7 separate regions of the Homo sapiens genome follow, and regions 1, 2, 3, 5, 6 and 7 are each linked to region 4. The links are contacts of gene promoters, found by promoter capture Hi-C in blood cells and fetal thymus (Javierre and others, 2016). All regions are on one chromosome and are shown on one strand. Each heading gives the region's core, a stretch centred on a gene start or on the middle of the fragment in contact. The rest is flanking DNA. Distances are from core to core; before and after follow the strand shown. Region 1 overlaps MYH15 (myosin heavy chain 15). Region 2 overlaps MYH15 (myosin heavy chain 15). Region 3 overlaps MYH15 (myosin heavy chain 15). Region 4 holds the start of LINC00636 (long intergenic non-protein coding RNA 636). Region 5 overlaps MYH15 (myosin heavy chain 15). Region 6 overlaps LINC00882 (long intergenic non-protein coding RNA 882). Region 7 overlaps MYH15 (myosin heavy chain 15).

Region 1 (2,732 bases), core at 135-2,634, 590 kb after region 4:
TCCTGCTGATCGTGATTCAAGTTTAGCTCAATGTAGTCTATTTTAACATGCGTGGAGCACTTACGGCTTACAGGGCATTGTTTTAGATGCTTGGAGTACTAAGATGAATTAGACACAGTTCATGCTTCAAAGAGGTTAGAAGACAAAAATCTAAGCAGATTATTTCAATATAGTATAGTTAGTATTATAGTAGAGGTAGAATTATCCATTTATAGAGTAAGCTAAATTAATAAATTGATTTTGATCAGTCATTTAAATGTTTTAAATAACACAGACACATCAGTTACCTTAATATACCAAGGGAAACACATCTATTCTAGTCATCATATATAAGATGACTGTCTTATATTACAAATTTGTACATTTGTCTATCTCTTTTTCAGAGTTAGGGTGTATACTGAGTAAGACAATCAGTATCACCTGAGTACTAGCTATATATCCTTTGGAATGTTACTTAACATTCTCTTTGACTCAGTTTCCTCAACTAGGAAAAACATAAATTATGCATTTCTGCCCTACTTAGCTCTGAGTATTATTGTAAGAATAGAAGGCAATAATACTGTGAATGCTTTATCCATACTATGTGTGACACCACTTCCTCTTTCCAGAAAGGCTACATTTCTCAGCCCCTTTCTGTAGCTAAAGGTATTATTTTACTAATTCTTACCAATGGACTGTTAGTGAAAGTGATATTACTTCTAGCCCAAGCAGTTAAAGGTGGTTGTACTTTCTCTGCAAATGATCTTTTCTCCTTGTGCAGTCACTTGGGAGGCCGTGTGTCCCAGATGGCATAGAACTACAAAGAACTACATAGAACTACAAAACAGAGAAGGCTGTATACTCTGTATTGCACTTGATGTAAGAAATATTTTGTTGTCACTGAGATTTTAGTGTGTGTGCATTACTGCAGCCCAGCTTATCTCATATTTTCCCTTACACACTACAGATATAAATTATTATTTTTGAAACATACTAGCATGCTTAGATGGTCTCATTACCCAGTGGCCCTGGGAATATTTACTGCATTAAGGCAAAGCCTCAAAGAATTTGTTATTCTCTACTATAACATTCTCCTGGATGCTAAACAAAATCTGCATGGCGTTCCATCTCTCATTTCTGTTTTCAACACACACCTCCTTTCAAATATTGATTTTTAGCATATGTCCTAAAACTGTTTCTCAACTAACGTGTCACCATGTGTCTTTTATGCCAAAGGAGCCAATATGCCAAATACGTGAAGCATGCCAATTTGCCAATTTTATCCATGTTAGGAATGAACAGCTTTGAAAGCTTCCTCGCTGGATGACAAAGATGTTGATCACAACAAGTGGAGGGTTTGTCTGCATCTGCAAAGATACTTGCTACCTAAGGGAAAACTTTCAAAATGTATGTTTCAGACAAGAGCATTTACTGTGGTGTGCATCACAAGTAAAAACATTTGGAATAGTCATCCCAAGAGCTCTTTTTTGCTTATTTATAGAAGCTTTCATTATTGCAAACATCCTTAGTAGTTGAAAAATATACAGTACAATATATATACAATTATTGGAAGATCATAGAATAATAATGCTCTTGAAATATCACCTTACCTGTTCTATAGTTTGACCTCTGGTAACATATTCGTTACCAACTTTGATTCTAGGATGGATCAAGCACTTTACCAACTCAGAGGAGTTAATGCCCATGAGGAAAGCAGCTTTGTCAGCATCTGGTCATCAGAAATAGAAGAAAAGGAAGGAGAGAGGAAAACACTGTTAAGATTCATTCCATTATAGCCAAACTAACTACCCAGAGGACAGAAAGATAGTGTGTTTACATCAGCGTAGCAAAGTAGATTGTAGTTTTCAAATAAATGCCTGAATCCTAAAAGTTTAAAGGAAATTATTTCTTCGAAATACAAGTCAAAGCCACATTGAAATCTCACTTCTTCAGTTTGTTGGCATTAAGGAAAAAGAAAATATAATGCCACTCACAGCCACTAGAATGACTATAATCAAAACGGCAGACAATAACAAGTGTTGACAAGGATGTGGAAAAATGTGAACCCTCATGCATTGTGGGTGGGAATGCAAAATGGTGTGTATTTGCCGTGAGAAACAGTTTGACAGTTACTCTGAAGTTAATCATAGAGTTACTATGGAACCCAGCAATATCACTTTTAGGTACACACCCAAGATAAATGAAAACATATGTTCACACAAAAAATTGTACACAAATGTTTCTAGCAGCATTATTCACAATAGTCAAAAGGTGGGAAAAAGTGAAATGTCCATCACTGATGAATGGATTAAAAAATGTGGTATACTCATATAATACGATATTGCTAGTCATTTTACAAAAATGAAGTATTGATGTGCACTACAACATGGCTGAAACTTGAAAACATTATGCTAAGTGAAAGGAGTCAGACACGAAAGGCCACATATTGCAGGATTCCATTTCTATGAACTGTTCAGAACAGGCAATCCATAAGGACAGAAAGTCGATTTTGGTTGCCACAGGCTGAGGAGAAGCAAAAATCAAAATAACTACTAATAGTTGCTACTAAAAGTTTATTTTTGTGATAATAAAATGTTCCGGAATTAGATAGTGGTGGTTGCACAGCCTTGAGAATATACTAATACCCAATAACTATACAGTTTAAAAGGTGAATATTATGGTGTATGAATCTTCTAAAAGAGGACTAGTATCAAGAAACAGAATCTTTTAAAAATTGAGATATAATTTGTCTG
Region 2 (2,761 bases), core at 167-2,666, 530 kb after region 4:
GGCTACTGAACATTCAAAATATGCCTAGTACAATGTGTGATCAAAACTGAATTCTTAATTTTATTTAACTTTAATATAAATTTAAATAGTTACCTGTAGTGTAGTAGAGGCTTCTATATGTATTGGACGGCCCTGCTGGGTTTAATAAACATTTTTATCATTTAAATGGTGATCTGGCTAACCTAGCAGCATTATTCCCCAGAGATAATCTAGTGTGGAAAGAACACTAGATCCTGACGGGTCCTCAAGTGTCCTTTATGCAAATTAGGAAAAAAGCACATTTTCAGGAAGATACAGCTCTGAGGGCACAAGGTTTAGTTAATGGCAGCCTCAGCCAGACCCCTTTGGGTGGTAAATGAGGAGCCACAATACACAATGACTCTGAAAAGGATGCAGGCTTTGGAGTCAGATGAACTTGGGTTCAAACTGTGACCTCTCCTCTTGTTTAATTTTATTTTTCTTTAAAGGAAAAACTTTTAAAACCTTTATGTGGCATTTACATGGCATATATTTAATTATAGAAGTAAACAAGACAAAGACAAAATCCCTGCCCTAAAGAGCCCAAAAGAAATAAGGGGATACACAAAATACACAGGCAAATACATTAATAAATAAAATTTCTAATAGCAGTAAAACAAACACAGCAGATAAACACGATCTAGAATGTTTGGCTCCTTCTCATCATCCCTCTAAGACTTCGGTGAAGGGCCTTTAAGCAACGGGAAGGGCAGTTATAAAAGTCCTAAGGCAGGAGTGATGGTGCCTGGTTTAAGAGGCAGAAGGGAAGCCAGGGCAGCTGGAGGGGAGTAAATGAGGGAAGCAGATGTAGGAAGTAGGTCACAGAAGGAGGCTGGAGCCAGATCAGGGGGGCTTGTAGGCCAATTGGAAGTCACTGGGAAGGCAGCCAGAGAGATCTTCTAAAATATAACTCATTTCACTATGCGTTTAAGTTCCTTCACAGTACATCACTAGGTGTATGACCTTGGACATGATATTTTTCTTCTCAGAGCCTTGGTTTTTTCATATATAAGGATGCAATTCTATCTGCTTCATTTGACTGATATGAAGATTGAGATAACATGACAGAAGTATCTGGTACAATGTCTGATGCACAAACAATGATACATTTTTAAATTTGTATATAATATAGAAAGTATGGAGAGTTAAGGGAATAAAATGGTACAATATTTTAAAACAGACTCAACTACCTGTGTTTTCACAGTATACGCCTTCATAGTATGGTCATGTACAAGTAAGATAGTTTGGGGTCTTAGTAATAAGATGCCTTGACTATGAACTAAGAATTCATTTAAATATCAGGGCTCAAAGAATTCATATCTCATGTTAGTCACTATGCTTTCATCTTCCAGAATCACTTCCACTGGAGTCACCTTCTAGCAACATTATACACTCATAGGAAGAAATGACTAATTTCTATAATTTATTGACAATTTAAAAGTAATATTGAGCTAACCCAGTCCCACTTATTTTATTCTAGGCTTTTATTTAATTTCACTTTTTTATGAGCAGTTTCAAAATCAAAATCCTGAAAGAGCCTTGCTGCCCTTCTGTTCAAGTACTTATACAAGATGGGAACACACACTTTGCTTGCTCTAAACCTGCAACGAAGCAATTTGAATCACCGAGGAAGATCCTTCAGTCATCAGGGTTCTTCCTGGCATGGTTTTTCCCCCATAACTTCTAGGGCATTTTCCCTTCTTCTTTTACAAAACATCTTCAGGCTGATTCATCAAGCACTATTTTTTAAAAAAAAAAACACACAGTCAAGAAACTAGTGAGAAATAATAGATACATTACTTTGGTCTCCTTTTCCAGCTGCCCTCTCAGGTCTTCAATCTGCCGAGTGAAGTTGCTCTTTTCCCTGGAAAGTTGGTTTATCAGAGCCTCCTTCTCTTCAAGCCTCCGTAGGAACTCGCCTACAGAAAGATTTCACAAAACTACATAATTACAGTCTTCCTATCTATTGCCTCCTTCACTTGACTTACTGACTTTAAGGGTAGCCAGAATGACTCCTACCCACATATTTTTGATATTTAGGAAGGGTCTGAGAGTCCTATTATTCAGCAAAACCGTGGCAATGATCCTTTCCAGGACTCAGAAGAGAGTCCTAAAAATGAGCTGATTTTTAGTAATAAGTATGAATCGATAACAGATGATATTAGTTACCATTTATTGAGAAACTTCTATGCTCTAGGTACTTAACGTATGTTATCTAGTTTAATTTTCATAACTCCTTGATAGTGTAGGTATTATACTAACCATTTTGCAGAGGAGGAAACAGAGCAACTTAAATATGACTGAAACAGAAACATACACAGTTCGTAATTGGTGAAGGTAGATTCAAATGAAGTTCTTGAAGACCACATTCTTCTATACCATACTCCCTTGTTTATTATATGTGGCTTTGTACACTTCTGTCTATATAATTTTTAGATAATTATAACTTTTATTACCTCACTTGTAAGATGAAGATAACAATAAGATTCTTAATGAAAACTAAATTAGTGTGAATATATTTTATAGACTGAAATGCTAAATAAATATTAGCAGTAGTCACTAAATGGTAGGAAATGTGACGATGAGAGGGAGAAATTCTATCATACTCTAGTCTATCGTCCCTGCTTAACTTATCCTATTAATTATAGTCGGGCCTTCCATATCTGTAAGTTCTGCTTTGTGAATTCAACCTACCGAGGTCCTACAATTTAACTCAATTCTGACACTATTTTCCTGGAGACAG
Region 3 (2,888 bases), core at 59-2,558, 610 kb after region 4:
GAAACTATTAGTAGAATTCTGTAATGCGGCAAGCCCTCCATCTCCAGGTCAAACCCCATTCTTGCTTTGATAACCAATGGCCAAAAGCTGCTTCCAAATTTGGTTATATTATCTTCGAATGAGAAATCAGAAAAACAGTTGGATGACAGAGGCTAACAATATACAATACCCCTATGAATATGTGGGAGCTCGTTTATTTGCAATGCTTCTTTTTTGGTTGGCATTGGCCTGAGGGGGAAAAGCAAATGGTCACCAAATAAAAAAGAAAAACATACCAAAGCTTATTTCCAGACAAACATATCATATATTTCCCCCATCATTAATCTTCCTCTCTTCCCATCCGATCTTTGCACTTGGAAATTTATCCTAGGATAATACAACAGACTCTTGGTGTTATTAAACTATACTTTTGCTTGCTTCTTTTCCTAAGTAATCTAGAGGTTCACATGAGTAGTGACTTTTAATAGTATTGATCTTGAATTTGAATCACGTGTGCTCAGGCTGATAGGCAAAAACAGATCATCTACCTATCTACCATATCTACATGGCTTTGTTGTTTTCCAGTCAGCCTCAAAGACCAATTTTATGGGGGTAATTATGTAGTATATGGTATTTAATAATTTGTGGATTTATAAATATTATATCCCTTCTTATATCCCTACTACTATATAATATTCCCCATCTTATGGGGGGACTTATATAGTATACTGTACTCAATAATTTATGGATTTATAAATATTATATCCCTTTTCAGTAATATGGGTTTACTGTCCTTCAAATAAGTTAGAGAACATTATATATATATGAGCAAGGATTTCCATAGGAGTGTTATATTTATGTATTGTATTATATATTATCATAAAACTCAATGGCTAGACCAAACCATTTAATGCGCACCAAAAAAAAAAAAAAACCACAAACATCTAAAATGCTTGTAAAAACAAAGTTACATCTAGTGAATAAAAGAGTTCAGTGATGGCCAGGGGCGGTGGCTCACGCCTGTAATCCCAGCACTTTGGAGGCCTACGCGGGAGGATCACGAGGTCAGGAGATCGAGACCATCCTGGCTAACACAGCGAAACCCCGTCTCTACTAAAAATACAAAAAATTAGCCGGGCACGGTGGCGGGCACCTGTAGTCCCAGCTGCTCAGAAGGCTGAGGCAGGAGAATGGCGTGAACCCAGGAGGCGGAGGTTGCAGTGAGCCGAGACAGCACCACTGCAGTCCGGCCTGGGCGAAAGAGCGAGACTCCGTAAAAAAAAAAAAAAAAAAAAAAAAAAAAAGAGCTCAATGATACCCAAAGAAATCAATAATCAAATTCAGGAACGTGGTGGTAAAAAAAAGAAACTTCTATAGTTTAAAAATTAGGTCAGATGGCTATTTTAATATATTTCTTACTTTGCAAAAACAGCAAACATCCAGTATCGAATTGAAAAAAGCAAAATAATCATTCCAGACATAGAAAAATGAGAGGTCTAACAGCTCAATAACTCATTGATTTTGAGTTCCATTCAGCATTACCTGATTTTATTTTGCATACCAATGTTTATGGTCTTAGTTATCCTCAAGTTATTATGATGTCCATTAACATGTTAATGGAGCTAAACAAAGTAAGCTAAACTAAAATGAACAAGGATTTTTTTTTTAATAGGGAAGGCAAAGTTTTTCTGAATGTGGTATGTGATTAACATTGAGGGGTATATTCATTGGGCATTTAGAATTTGATCCAGGAGTTAGGTATGAATGAAGAAAAATTTTATTGGTGCATATTTGTGGGAATCTGATATCTCACAGTAGCTAAAGGGATTCAGAAATATCCAAGCCACTGATGACCCTAGCCTTTAGGTAAGATGGTTTGAATCTTGAGGACTTAACTTACAGGTCCAATAAACAAAGACCAGGCCAGAAAATGCCCCTTTAAGCAGATGTGAAATTAATTACATAATTCATGTTTTCATGTTATTGTTTGGAGCACTTGATGATCCTCTCAAGGACCAAAGGAAATATTTAAAAAAATACTTTTCTATAATTTGCAAATTGTCCTGTGGTGCTTGTGGCCTCACTTCCCAAAAGTGGTCCGGACACAACCTCCATGATCCAGTGGATAGGGCCACCTCATCTTTTCTACCAAGCTATATAAACACTTACCTGCTTTTTCCTGGATTCAATCATGGCTGCTATGGTGGCAAAATACTGGATAATATGTTTGCTGTTCACAGTCTTTCCAGCACCAGATTCTCCTCTGTGATTTGAAATTCAGTGATACAGTTAACTGGTTCTGATTATCAATGCAACGAAAGTTAGGTAATTTTGATTATATAGGCTATGGCAAGCAGGGAAGCTTTTACATAAAAGTAGAGCTTCAGATGGAACTTGAGGATATATTGACATTTAATTGGTTGGGAGAAGGGCAAGGACATTTCAGGCTGGAAAAACAGCATGAGCAAAAATCTGGAGTTAGAAAGATCACAACTTTTTGTAAATATTAGGAAGCCTGTTCCTTGTGGTCCTAATAACAAGCAGCAGGAAAGCACCTCTTCTAACTAGACAAGTCTCCTCATTACCAGCTGTTCAAGAGATTTTCATGTATGAAGGCTACCACACAGCCAAGTCCAACCCTCTTCTCAGAAGAGGGCTACCAATCACTTCACCAGGCAGTTGGGCTTTAGGCTTTACCTTACCTTTGACAACCAGCTAACTTTGCAATGTGGGAAGAGCACAGTGGCAAATTTATAGCCTCCTCAATGTAAGCATCATAGAATCAAGGCCTGCCTGCCTTTATCTATACAAAACTCCAGAAAATAGTTTATCCTGTCTGTGAAAGGCTGAACTCCCAACTGTTCATGTAGCTCTAAAATTCTGAGACCTCATGATCCCTCTTGGGATAA
Region 4 (2,700 bases), core at 55-2,554:
ACTGATGCTTGTTCTTGCCCCAAATGTTTCAGCACTAGTGCATTCTTTACTCACAGAATTTAGGTTCTGAGGAAAACCCTCATATGTCTTTCTGAGGATCATACACAGGAGACTTTAGCAGAACTAAAGCAAACGCAAAAGAATCCAGAATCTGGAATCTTCTGCATGTGATGCCACAGGTGACATTCTCCCACTCTGGGATGAAATAGACAGTTTCTCCCTTGCTTCTCCTGAAACCAGTACATTGGCTCAAGCTGTAGGCTCTGCCTGCAGGATGCACCAGCTCGTGTTTGAATTAAATACAGTGACTTGAAGAAGGAAGAACTCTACAGAGTCTACTCTGGCAACACCGGGAACAGAAGCAACAGGACATTCAGCTTCCAGAAACTGCAGCGGTGCAGTTCCAATGGTTTCTGGCCTCTACAGCCTGTATTCTTAGTGGTTTATGCTCCAATTTCTATACACATTGTTAGTAGCAGCGGTGTCTTCATGAGACTAATTCCGTGGTGTGATATTGTTTGAGGATGCTTATGTTCGTAGTCATGGAAATTTAGTGATTGCCTCCCCAGCATTCATTCTCTCTGTTCCCTTTCTGATGGGGACATGCAGATTGGTTGGGACTAATCTCACAGCAGCTCCAGGGATGGGCCCTAGTTACAGTGGTTGGGATGGCATTATGATCCAAACTTTGTCAAAAAGAGAGAAGATGTTTGATGGGGAGCATCTGGAGAATAAAATTATTCTGTCTTTCATGGATGCTAAAAAAAGATGCTCCCTTCATCCACTGGTTGTGAATCAGGAAGCAACCACCCCAGTTGTTCTGGTAACTATGTTGATATGGTGAAGCTATCAAAATAGTTTTAGGGCTATTCTGCCACTGGGGAAGGCTGAGACACAGAAAGGAAGTCGGTCCTGGGACATCATTAAACTGCTGGAGCAAGCTTACCTGAAGGGTCATCTGGTAAGCAGATATGGAGATGGAATTACCAGTGTCCAAGCTTTATTGAGGTAATGTTTGTGAAAGATAAAAGCAAGGCACAGGAAATATATGGGCAGCAAAACCCTTCAGACCTTGATCCAGGCCTGACACCTGTGAAAACAAAGGGAAACCCCGCAGGATTGGGCAGGAAGGGCCTCAAACTGTGATGCAGATTTCATAAAGTCTCTGCCAGCACCAAAGGGAGATCTAGAGCAAAAGCTGCTTGTTGGAAGAGTATGACAATGGGCGGAAATGCCCAGACACTAGTACTCCCACTGTACTTATTCGCCAGGGCTGTCGAGAAAGCTCAACACTGTTGTTCCAACTCAACACTGTAGAGGACCCTTAATGCCCACTGGCTGGCGGCTGTCAGTTACCGGCATCCTGCACACGTGGATAGTTTGTTCTTTTTTGAAGGGAGATCCAAGTAAGTAGTACACCTCCTTCCATTTCTGGGTTTCTTAAATTACTTGAACCACAAAATCTTTATATTATTACTGTTGTTGCTGTTATTATGATTTAAACAGTTAGACCGATTTTCTGTTACCTGTGAGCAAAGGAACTGTGATTGGTATGTGAAGTAATATTTTTAGATTTAAAAAGATTGTCAGTTCAGTTTAACATATACTTAAGAGGCAAGATACTTTAGTTATATTATCTCTGACCTTCAAAAACAAACAAATGAACAAACTCACAAATGCAGAGCTTATCACAGAACTGTTATGTGGTTGGAACTAATAAATGATAGCTATGATGATTCATCTCCATTTCAGTTATATTGCTCTTCAGTGTTTAATAATGGTAATTGGGTTTTTAGTTCCCAAAATGTGACTTTTTTTCTTGCACAGAAGTTAATGCTGATAGTTTCTTATGATTGTGTTAATGTTGAACTGACAAAAGGTATAAATTTTATAACTTAGTTTTTATAAGCCTTTACTTTTAACTCACAAATCTTGTTGCTATATTTGCAAATCTAATAATGGTGTAAGAATTTTAAGCACTTAACTTCATTTGTTATTTAATTAATGCTCAATTAGTTTATAAATTTTATGGATCAGATCTCTCAAATGTTAACAGTATATAGAAACTTTATTAACTAGATATTTTTAGACATTTCAAACAATTATTACCAATTTGAAAACCAGTTCTCCCAAATAATTCAAACACCTATTAAGCAAACTTACAAGTCTAACATGCAAGATATTTGCAATCTTTGTGAAAATCTAATAAATTTAATAAATTAGACAAATTTAATAAAGCAGATTCTCTTATCCATTTCAAACATCTTAAAGCAGATAAAGCATATATGAAGCAACACAATGACTATAAAATAGCTTACACATGCAAAAATCAATTCCACTTAAATCTATACTTCCTGGAGTTGGACACTTAGTTACCCAACTAAGAGGATGGTTACCCAAGTAACCATCATCAAGGGCCTGCTGTGGTTACTTGTGTAAAACTTGGGATCATCAGAAGGTTACCAACTCAGGTTGGGGTAGGGACTGTGGCCTGGGGACACTATCTAGGTGTTACTTAAAGAATGGTACTTCCTAAGCCACCAAATAATACCTTCCAAGTCTCCTCCTATAATCTGGTTTTAGTTGCTTCATCCCTGGCACACTCCAAGCTTGTAGATCTCAACTGGGATACAATTTAGTTTCACAACTCAATTTATCATGTGTCTGTCAAGTTTCATCTTTACCTACATTTTCAACTTT
Region 5 (2,867 bases), core at 109-2,608, 560 kb after region 4:
TAAGTTATGTCTGGCAAACATATATTATTTAAGTAATCTGAGTATGTAAGTCTTCACATCAGGATCAATTTTTTTTTTTTTTTTTACATTTTATGCCATTGGTCTCGTCATGAGTAAAAAGAAGAGTGTCATTTTTATTTTTTTGACGTATAGCTGCAAGTTCCCAAAAGTTTACATCTCATATACCTTACACCATTCTTTCTCATTTGCTAGTCAGGTATTTTCTGTTACGTCCTTCTAGATTATGCATCTGGTCTCTTTACAACTATAAAATAAAGTCCAGTAAAGAAAAAAAAAATTGTTTCCTAGGCTTGTTATCCTTGCCTTGGGTCTTGAGCTATCTGGCCCTGGAGTCCTAAGGATAAATGAAATGAGAAAGCTGTTCCTTCTAATATAAGGTCTCCAGCAATCTCATGTCAACAGAAAGGTGGCTTACTTCCTCAGCTCTTCTGCCAGGTGTCGCTGGCTGCTTTCCAGGTTCTCCATACTTTCCCGATTCAGCTTTAAATTGCCCTCCAGTTTGTGCAGTTCCCTTTCACAGTTCATTCTCGCTTTTCTCTCCTGCTCAAGGGCACCCTCAAGCTGACAAAAGGAAACATTATTTAGCTAAATAAATAGGTAGAGTTTATACTTCACTAGATGTGTTCATTAACCACTTACCTTCTGGAAAAAGAAAGACACAAGCACAAATTCTATAAATGATGCCCAGTAACATAGATATTTCCAAATAAATATTGCATATGTCAATAGGTTAACAAAAGAATCCAGAAATCACAGGGATGGAAGAAAACTAGAAATAACAGAATATGAGTTCTGTCTTAGGGAAGGAACCAACAAGAAATGGCCAGTGAGCCCTTGATTGATCGTTTTCCAATGATAGGAAGCTCACTTCTTCACATGGCGGCTCATTTCACGGGTGGATAAGTCCATTTACTTGGGAGTGCTTCTTCATAAGAAGCCAAAATATTCCCTGTAAATTCTATCCACAAGTACAAGCTCTGCTCCCTGGAGCAACACCAAGCAAATCAGTTTCCGCATGATCATCCTTAATAATTTGCAAGAACCCCCTGGCATCACTGGCCCATTCAAACACATTCTCACATGTCATGATTTCCAAGCCCCGTCACCACCTTGGTACCCTCTTCCAGTTCATAACATTATGTCATATTCTGGTTCCTCACTAAATGTTCCCCATCAGAACATTCCAGTTTTGTATGGATTAGTATTGCCAGGAATTATATAGAGGTTAATTTTCCAGGAAGCTAGATAACAGTCACAATATGGCTTTTTATTTATTGATATGTTTACTTTAAAACAATGGAAGATATCCTCTGTAACCAGCCAAAGAGATGAAATTCAAATTGGGAAGGAGGGAGAAATTCTGGAAAGGATTCCAAATTCATACGCTGAAATCCTAATTCCCAGTATGATGGTGTTGGGAGGTGGGCCCTTTAGGAAGTGATGAGGTCATGAAGGTAGAGCCCCCATGAATGGAATTAGTCCTTATAAAAGAGATCCTGGAGAGCTCCCTTGTTCCTTGTGTGATGTGAGGACACAGGGAGAAGTCACCCTCCATAAACCAGGAAATGAGTTCTCACTAGACACCAACTCTGCTGGTACTTTGATCATGGACTTCCCAGCCTCCAGAACTGTAGGAAATAAACTGCTATTTATTTGCCACCCAGTTTATGGTATTTTATTATAGCAGCCTGAATGGACTAAGACACCAGGAGAGAATAAGTGTGTGGGTGGGTGTGTGGGTGTGGGTAGGTGTGTGTGATGTGCATATATAAGCACACATATAAACACCCAAAAATCCTTATGCTGAGGCTTTGTGAGATATGTTATTATTGGAAATAGGAACAAATGTAACACAACGAATAGATAATAGAAGAAATTTATATAGAGGCAGGAAGAAAGAGCAGCAGATAAGAAGAAAAAAAAAAAACCTAACCACTCTTGTCAACAATTTTATAAAGGCTACACTTTGGGGACTACTGTGAGCATAAATGCATACACTATGTCAGCTGGGGTGGGAAAAAGGAAGAATTATGAACCCACACATTGAAACTGGTGTGAAACAGCTTTATTTCACAGGGCATTTAGAGGCAAAATAGGGGCATCATCTCTAGAATCTTAAAAGTATTTTCCAATAGTGTAGGTAGAACACAACTTGTGGCTCACATATCTTTCAACCATAAATAAATCTCAGCACACCACTGGAAACACACATGGCCTTTAAAACTAATCCTTCAACACTAGTGGTAAATAGAGTACCAGCATATCTGTGGGGCAAAATACCAGGTTCTGTGGGAGATATGGGGAAAAGCCAGTCACCTAGAGTGATAACCCTTTACCATTCATCTTAATGTTCTTTTTCCATTGCCCAGGGTTGAATGAAAATTGCATTTAAAAACCGACAGATTATATGCAGAGACCTCTCTTATACTATCGTGGTTTTGTGTATAAGAAAAAGAACCCTTTTATTCTCAATAATCAGGAAAACAAACTATGCTACTAGGTTTTTCTGAAACTGTCAAGATAAATTAATGAAGTAAAAACTGGAGTTATGTGTATATGTAGACAGATAGATAACTAACCAGATACACCGTTACTGACCTCATCAACTTGCTGTTCCAGCTTCAGATTTGCTTTGCTCAGGCTGCTGAGCTTCTCCTCCTCCATGTGCAGGTCATCCAGGGTCTGCTGATGGGCCTCCTGCACAACCTTGGCTGCTCTGTTAAGTTTGCTGATATCCTCATTTAGAAACTCTACTTCCTCAGTCAAGTTCTTGACCTGTGGGAAGAAGATGACAGCTTCATTAAAGCCACTGCTGGAAAGTTGGGCATAACACTGAGGGTCATTTC
Region 6 (3,028 bases), core at 59-2,558, 660 kb before region 4:
TGAAAAATCATGCTAAGCTTATCCACAGTGAGCTAATTTTAAAAAACATTTCTATTCAATGGGCAGCCTTTTACTGACTTTGACCACTGATGGGTAGCTCCCATGGGGGATTCAGTAAAGCCCTTATTCACTTACAGGCCTATAATCTAATTAATGCAATAAATATACATCTTAAGTGATGCTTTGGCGGCAAAAACTTGAGATCAAGACCTAGATCTGTTACTTAACAGTTGTGTGATTTTGGACAAGTTAGCATCTCAAAGCCTCAAATTCATCATCTGTATAATGGATAATGATAGTATATACTTCATATAAAATGCTATAAAAATGAATGAAATAATGCAAGTAATGCACTTAGCTTTAGCCCAAGGGCTCAAAAATGTTAGCTATTGCAAAAACATCATTAACATGATTAGTCTTACAATAAATGCACACACATTCAAAAGAGCAAGCAATCATTTCAAAATCTTTTTTTAAAAAAAAGTTAGCAGAGATGCTGATATTTAAGCTAAAACTTGAAGACAGCATCCAAATGTTTATACATGATGGAACAAACAGCAGTGAGAAAATCCAAGAAAATGATAATTTATTCAGAGGGTAATGAGAAGACAATGTTGGCTTGGGCAGAGTTTCTACATGAAGTGAGAGAAGTAGGGCCTGAGTGGTACGCTGCTGCCAGATCCCAAGAGGCCTATGTGCCAGGCAAACGAGCTTGGGCTTTGTCCTGTACATGATGAGGAGCCACTGAAAATTTTTGTCCAGTAATGTAAAACGATCAAAGCAGCATTTTATAAGAAAAATCAGAAAGGGAGAGACCAGTTAGAATGTGACTGCTGGAGTCCTGCTGCCTAGCAATGAGGATATACAATTAAGTCATGAGAAAATAGAAAAAAAATGGACACAGGAAACACTCTGAAGGACAAATAAACAGGACATATTTACTGAATCCCAGTATTGGTCACGATCCTAATCTAAAAAATGTTGCCAAGTCATATTTTCCTAATGAGTATTTAAGTCTGAATTCAAGTTATGAAATTCCAGAGATTCACTGACTCTTCCAGGCATTTTAACGGCTAAGAAGGGTACTTTGCTCACCATGAGCATTAAGTCAGTGTTGGTGTTCAGAATAATGGGGATCAGTATGTATATCGATGTTCATAGCTGCATTATTCACAACCAAATGCCTACCAATGGATGAATGGTTCAACAAAACATTATATATATATAATGTAGATATTATATATATGGATTATTACAACACAACAGATTATTGCTCAGTCTTAAAAGGGAATGGAATTCTGACACCTCATACAACTTGGATGGACCTTGAAAATACTATGCTAAGTGAAATAAGCCAGACACAAAAGGGCAAATACTGTATGATTCCACCTATATGAAGTACCTAGAATAGTCAAATTCATAGAGACAGAAAGTAGAATAGTGGTTAGCAGGCAATGGGGATATGAAGGAATAGGAAGTGTTTGTTTAATGGGTACAGAGTTTCAGTTTAGGATAATAAAAATGTTCCAGAGATGGATGATGGTGGTGATTGTACAACAATGTGAATGTACTTAATATCACTAAACTGTACACTTAAGACTGATTAAAGTGGTAAATTTTATGTCATGTATGTCTTATCACAATAAAAAAATGTGAGTCTGATACCCCGATGCTTACTCAAAACAAGAGAAATGTAATTCTGCCAACCATTTAGCCTAGTGGCTCAGACAAGTAAGACTTCCTGGGTCAGACACCATTAGGTTTTGTCCAACTAGAGAAGTAAAAAAATGCCAATAATCCATCTACATCAAAATGATAATGACATGGTGGCTCAAGGCTCTCTGCTTTTCCTCTGCCCTGTTCTGACACTAAAGGAAAAAGAGAAAGGAAGTCACTCTGTCAAAGTAATCCCTCGCCTTAGTACTTGGTACTTAACACTTGTTGACAAACTCCTTGGGAAAGAAAAAGTAACTTGCCTATCTCTGCCCCTATATCCAGAGCTGTGACAGGTGCTCCACAGATAACATTCACTGAAATTTGAGGGACTAGAACTCAATATGCTTCTATCAATTAAAATGCCCCAAGTGGTGGTTATGCTAGTTGGAATGTGAATACAGAAGACATGCTCTCTGACTTTTAAGATCATATAATCTAGTTGAGGGGATGAGAACTTATAATGACATAATAATGAACATAATATAATTAGCTGCTAAATTGTGTAGTACAGATTATAAGTACTCTAGGAGGTCATAAAAATGTCTAACATCATGTAGAAATGAATAATGAGTTGGGAAATCTTCACTTACTATGTACTTGCAGAAGCAGAGAAAGCTATAAAATGGACTAAAGGCTTTTAAAAGTATCCATTATATTTTAATTTTATGTGTAATACACCTTGTCTACCAAACAGTCCCTTTCTTAACGTTTTTTCTGGATTTTCTTTTTCCTCAGCCTTGCTTACAAGTAATTAGAAAATGCCTCAGAGGACAATAAGTAAATATTCCAACAACCATTCAAAAGAATGTGTAAATTACTGTAAAACAGAGGTACTCAATGAAAATTAGTAACTTCAGTCTTCATAAAATTAAACCTCTTATTCAAAGCTTGATTTGTTCAGACAAAGCCAAGAAGAAATAGATTAACCGACTCCCCTCCTTCCCAAGTGCGGGCTAATGAGATCCAGGGAAAATTTTATTCATTTAGCATCAGAATTCAGACCATTTGCTTGAAAATGGGAATTTCACAGCACTCTGCATGGCATAGATCAAAACAGACATGAGTTTTGTTTCTATAAAGACCCCAACTGTGAGTGTGTGTACCTTTTTGTTCTGGAACCCTAAACATTAAAAGCCATATGGCTATGTAGCTTAAGCAGTGAACTGAAGAAAGTAGGCATTAAATTCTATTTCCTAGACTGCTACCCGCTATAATCTCTCTCATCACTTCCTTCATCCTTTCACCCTAAGGAACTATCAAGCATTCAGCTCTGTTAAATTTCAGTAAATAGAGAGCAACTTGGTATTTCTCA
Region 7 (2,785 bases), core at 64-2,563, 580 kb after region 4:
TAGTCTCAGCAACAGAGCAAGACTCTGTCTCAAATTATTTTTTTTAAAAAAGGGAGGGGTACAGGGAGTAGAATCCTATGACACCTTAACATCAGACTCACTCATTCTCTTTAAGTACATATGAATAACTGTTTTGATTAGATCATGAAGCTTTTCTTATGACTTTGTCTTATGACTTTAAGAAAAAAACCAAACCTGCTGAAATCCAAGTTGACTCGATGGGAAGCAACTCTAATAGGTAACAGAATTGCTCCAAAATAGAACTCAGCTAATTAGATTCCTTGATAGATGGAAGCAGTGTCCCTAGACACATCCAGAAACCCAGCTGATAGGAAACAATGAGGCACAAACATACAGCCGTGAATGAACATGAAAGTATTTGTATCGCAGAAACTCAAACTGCAGCATCATTGTTTTGTATCACACTTTCCCAAAATAGGCCATAGACTGTCAGGATTGGGGTCTTAATTACAGGAGGTTAATAAAAATGCAAGCTACTATGGAACCTCAGAGATCAGAACCAGCAACATCTGGCTATGTATTATAAGGGTGGTTAGTGCTCTGAAGACATAGGGCTTGTCATATACATTCCTTGGAGGCTGACAGCCTCCAAACCAAGCTCCAGAGGGGCCAGTAACTCCAAAGAGGTGGCTGGGAATCTTCAAGCTCATGAAGTAAGGAAAGCAATCCATGTAGTTAATTTTGGTAAAACCCTTGTTTGGGGAATTGAAAACATTAAAAAAAAAAATCACTACCATCCACCTATCACATCATCCCCCTACCACTATTCACTGATCAAAAGATAGCCACTACCCAGAGTTACATAACTAAAAAAAAAAATGAATGCTATTAGAAAGAGGGAAGAAGATGTTGGCATTGGCAAGGAGGACTAGAGGGTGTTCTCAACAATTAGAAATGGATTTAGGAAGTGTCTTTATGGTCAATTTAGATAACTCAGACCAAATAACTTCCTTTATGCTGAAATATCTACCTTAATCCCCTAATTGATTATTCAATTCCATTTTTATTATAGTTTGTCCTTGTAGACAATGGCATGGGAGCTCACTCATGTTCAGCATAAAATTCAAGGAAGAATTTAAATAGTAATATCAAACATTCTAATGTTGCCCAATTGAGACCGCTTTGTGAAACCCTTCTGTACATCCATTTCAATGGCAATATTGAGGAGGTTCCAAAGACCTCATTTTTAACATATTTTCATTTTTCTATATGAAATTCTACCCTTATATAAAAGGCACCAATAAATATTTCTTTAAAAGATATTCAATATAGCTAATATCAAATCTATTTCCTAGTGTGAATTACAAAGAAATCTAGTTCTTACCTGGTATTTTGTTCACATTGGGATTTATGCATCTCACAAAATGAGGTGCTGTTGATTTCAGATTAGTCATCAATTTATTCAGGTTTTCCTAAAATGGAGACCATAATAAACACAAAATCACTTTGCAAATCACTAAAAACACCAATCCACCTCACAAATGTCTCCAAATCTATCAACTTAATCTCACAGCCAAGATGTATTCTAACAGTAAAATAATGAATTCAACATTCTTTACTGCCTACCAAATGCACATTATTTCTTTCCTATGGCAAGTCAATATTTATTTGACAGACATAGTTAAATTGTGAATCATCTCTACCTATTTTGAATTTGATAGCAATATCAAAGTTATGGCTGGGCTATAAAATGGCTTGAAAAAAGAAATTGTTTCTCAAGTTCTCTCTCTGTGGAAAACCTTTATCTTAGGTCAGATTCTCTAGAAGCCAAACCTGAGATGGGAATTCTGGTTCAAGAGATTTTTAGGGAGTGAAGAAAGCTGGGAACAGCAGGGGAAGAGAAAAGCAATGATTCAGACTCAGCTTTAGTCTGATCCTTGCAAGCAAGAGCTGTAAACACGAATGCACCAATTGCAGCATAGGTGGTCTCCCTTGAGGCAAGGGAGAGGCTAAAGTCTGGAGAGGAGGGCAAAGAGGCAGCTTAGTTTCCCCTTTGGCTAAGTGCAATTCTGACAACTCAGAGTTGTTATGAGCCAATATGCACATCAGCTGGAAGATGGGTGCAGGCATGATAAAGGGGATGTAAGTGGGAACAAACAGTGTCCTCTAAAGCCCTTGATAATAACAGCATAAACTTCAACTTTTCCAACTTGCTAGCTCCTGATACTTTATCCTTATTTGAAGATGTGAAATGTCAACTAAATAATAACATATGCAGATTGTGAGGCAATTAATATATGAATAGACGCAATTAAAAATTACTTTATGCAGAGATGCAACCGTTTGGAATGAAGCTCCTTTCTTTCGTTTCTTCTCCCCAAATGGTATAGCTAGCAAAAAAAAAAAAAGAAAAAGATGAAAACATGTAAAAAGCTCATTTTTATCACATTATCCTACCCCACTGATGGAAGCATAAATTCACCAGAGTTCTAGAACAATATGGCAATATCTACCAAAAGCTTCAAAATATTTATGTCTTTTATCACAAAATGTATATTTTTAGTGTTTTTCCTTAAGGATATAATCAGGCAACTGTGCAATGATACTCACTGAAGCATTATTTAGTCATTGCAAAAAAATTAAGCAAAAATAAAATTCATCAACAAATGCACATCATAGGAGATTAATTTATGAGAGAATATGCATACAGTGAAACACTGTAAGCTTTTAAAATGATGATGTGGATCCATATAACTTATATGGAAAGATTTCTAGGATGTTTTTAGATAAAAAGTTAGTTTACAAAGCCTAAATTTTATATATG

The links. Contacts are between HindIII fragments. The CHiCAGO score rates a contact against its expected background, and 5 or more counts as called.
Region 1: a fragment that was not itself captured here is called in contact with the fragment with the promoter of LINC00636 in region 4 in 11 of 17 cell types (M1 macrophages, M2 macrophages, megakaryocytes and 8 more); the score reaches 11.5 in M1 macrophages.
Region 2: a fragment that was not itself captured here is called in contact with the fragment with the promoter of LINC00636 in region 4 in 8 of 17 cell types (M2 macrophages, activated CD4 T cells, M1 macrophages and 5 more); the score reaches 7.4 in M2 macrophages.
Region 3: a contact is called between a fragment that was not itself captured here and the fragment with the promoter of LINC00636 in region 4, in 5 of 17 cell types (neutrophils, activated CD4 T cells, erythroblasts and 2 more). The highest score is 7.8, in neutrophils.
Region 5: a fragment that was not itself captured here is called in contact with the fragment with the promoter of LINC00636 in region 4 in 3 of 17 cell types (activated CD4 T cells, total CD8 T cells and M1 macrophages); the score reaches 5.8 in activated CD4 T cells.
Region 6: a contact is called between a fragment that was not itself captured here and the fragment with the promoter of LINC00636 in region 4, in 1 of 17 cell types (non-activated CD4 T cells). The highest score is 5.3, in non-activated CD4 T cells.
Region 7: a fragment that was not itself captured here is called in contact with the fragment with the promoter of LINC00636 in region 4 in 4 of 17 cell types (erythroblasts, monocytes, megakaryocytes and 1 more); the score reaches 6.4 in erythroblasts.

The regions. Positions count from the first base shown.
Region 1 is chr3:108,474,808-108,477,539 of GRCh38, forward strand. It overlaps MYH15 (myosin heavy chain 15), which reads right to left. Exons shown (of 41, transcript NM_014981.3): 12 at 1,590-1,708. Among named protein-coding and RNA genes, the nearest start is that of MYH15, 34 kb to the right of the region's middle. The HindIII fragment of the contact is 193 bases long and covers 1,289-1,481 here.
Region 2 is chr3:108,414,994-108,417,754 of GRCh38, forward strand. MYH15 (myosin heavy chain 15) reads right to left here. Exons shown (of 41, transcript NM_014981.3): 29 at 1,819-1,937. Among named protein-coding and RNA genes, the nearest start is that of MYH15, 94 kb to the right of the region's middle. The HindIII fragment of the contact is 7,305 bases long and covers 1-2,761 here.
Region 3 is chr3:108,495,904-108,498,791 of GRCh38, forward strand. It overlaps MYH15 (myosin heavy chain 15), which reads right to left. Exons shown (of 41, transcript NM_014981.3): 6 at 2,149-2,242. Among named protein-coding and RNA genes, the nearest start is that of MYH15, 13 kb to the right of the region's middle. The HindIII fragment of the contact is 2,061 bases long and covers 279-2,339 here.
Region 4 is chr3:107,881,901-107,884,600 of GRCh38, forward strand. LINC00636 (long intergenic non-protein coding RNA 636) reads left to right here and starts at 1,305. Exons shown (of 3, transcript NR_015394.1): 1 at 1,305-1,406. The HindIII fragment of the contact is 1,611 bases long and covers 997-2,607 here.
Region 5 is chr3:108,437,118-108,439,984 of GRCh38, forward strand. MYH15 (myosin heavy chain 15) reads right to left here. Exons shown (of 41, transcript NM_014981.3): 24 at 2,620-2,796; 25 at 437-582. Among named protein-coding and RNA genes, the nearest start is that of MYH15, 72 kb to the right of the region's middle. The HindIII fragment of the contact is 7,935 bases long and covers 1-2,867 here.
Region 6 is chr3:107,222,156-107,225,183 of GRCh38, forward strand. All of the region lies in intron 1 of LINC00882 (long intergenic non-protein coding RNA 882), which reads right to left. All of the region lies in intron 1 of LOC124909404 (a long non-coding RNA gene), which reads left to right. Among named protein-coding and RNA genes, the nearest start is that of LINC00882, 17 kb to the right of the region's middle. The HindIII fragment of the contact is 2,586 bases long and covers 16-2,601 here.
Region 7 is chr3:108,458,017-108,460,801 of GRCh38, forward strand. It overlaps MYH15 (myosin heavy chain 15), which reads right to left. Exons shown (of 41, transcript NM_014981.3): 17 at 2,284-2,351; 18 at 1,346-1,433. Among named protein-coding and RNA genes, the nearest start is that of MYH15, 51 kb to the right of the region's middle. The HindIII fragment of the contact is 2,330 bases long and covers 149-2,478 here.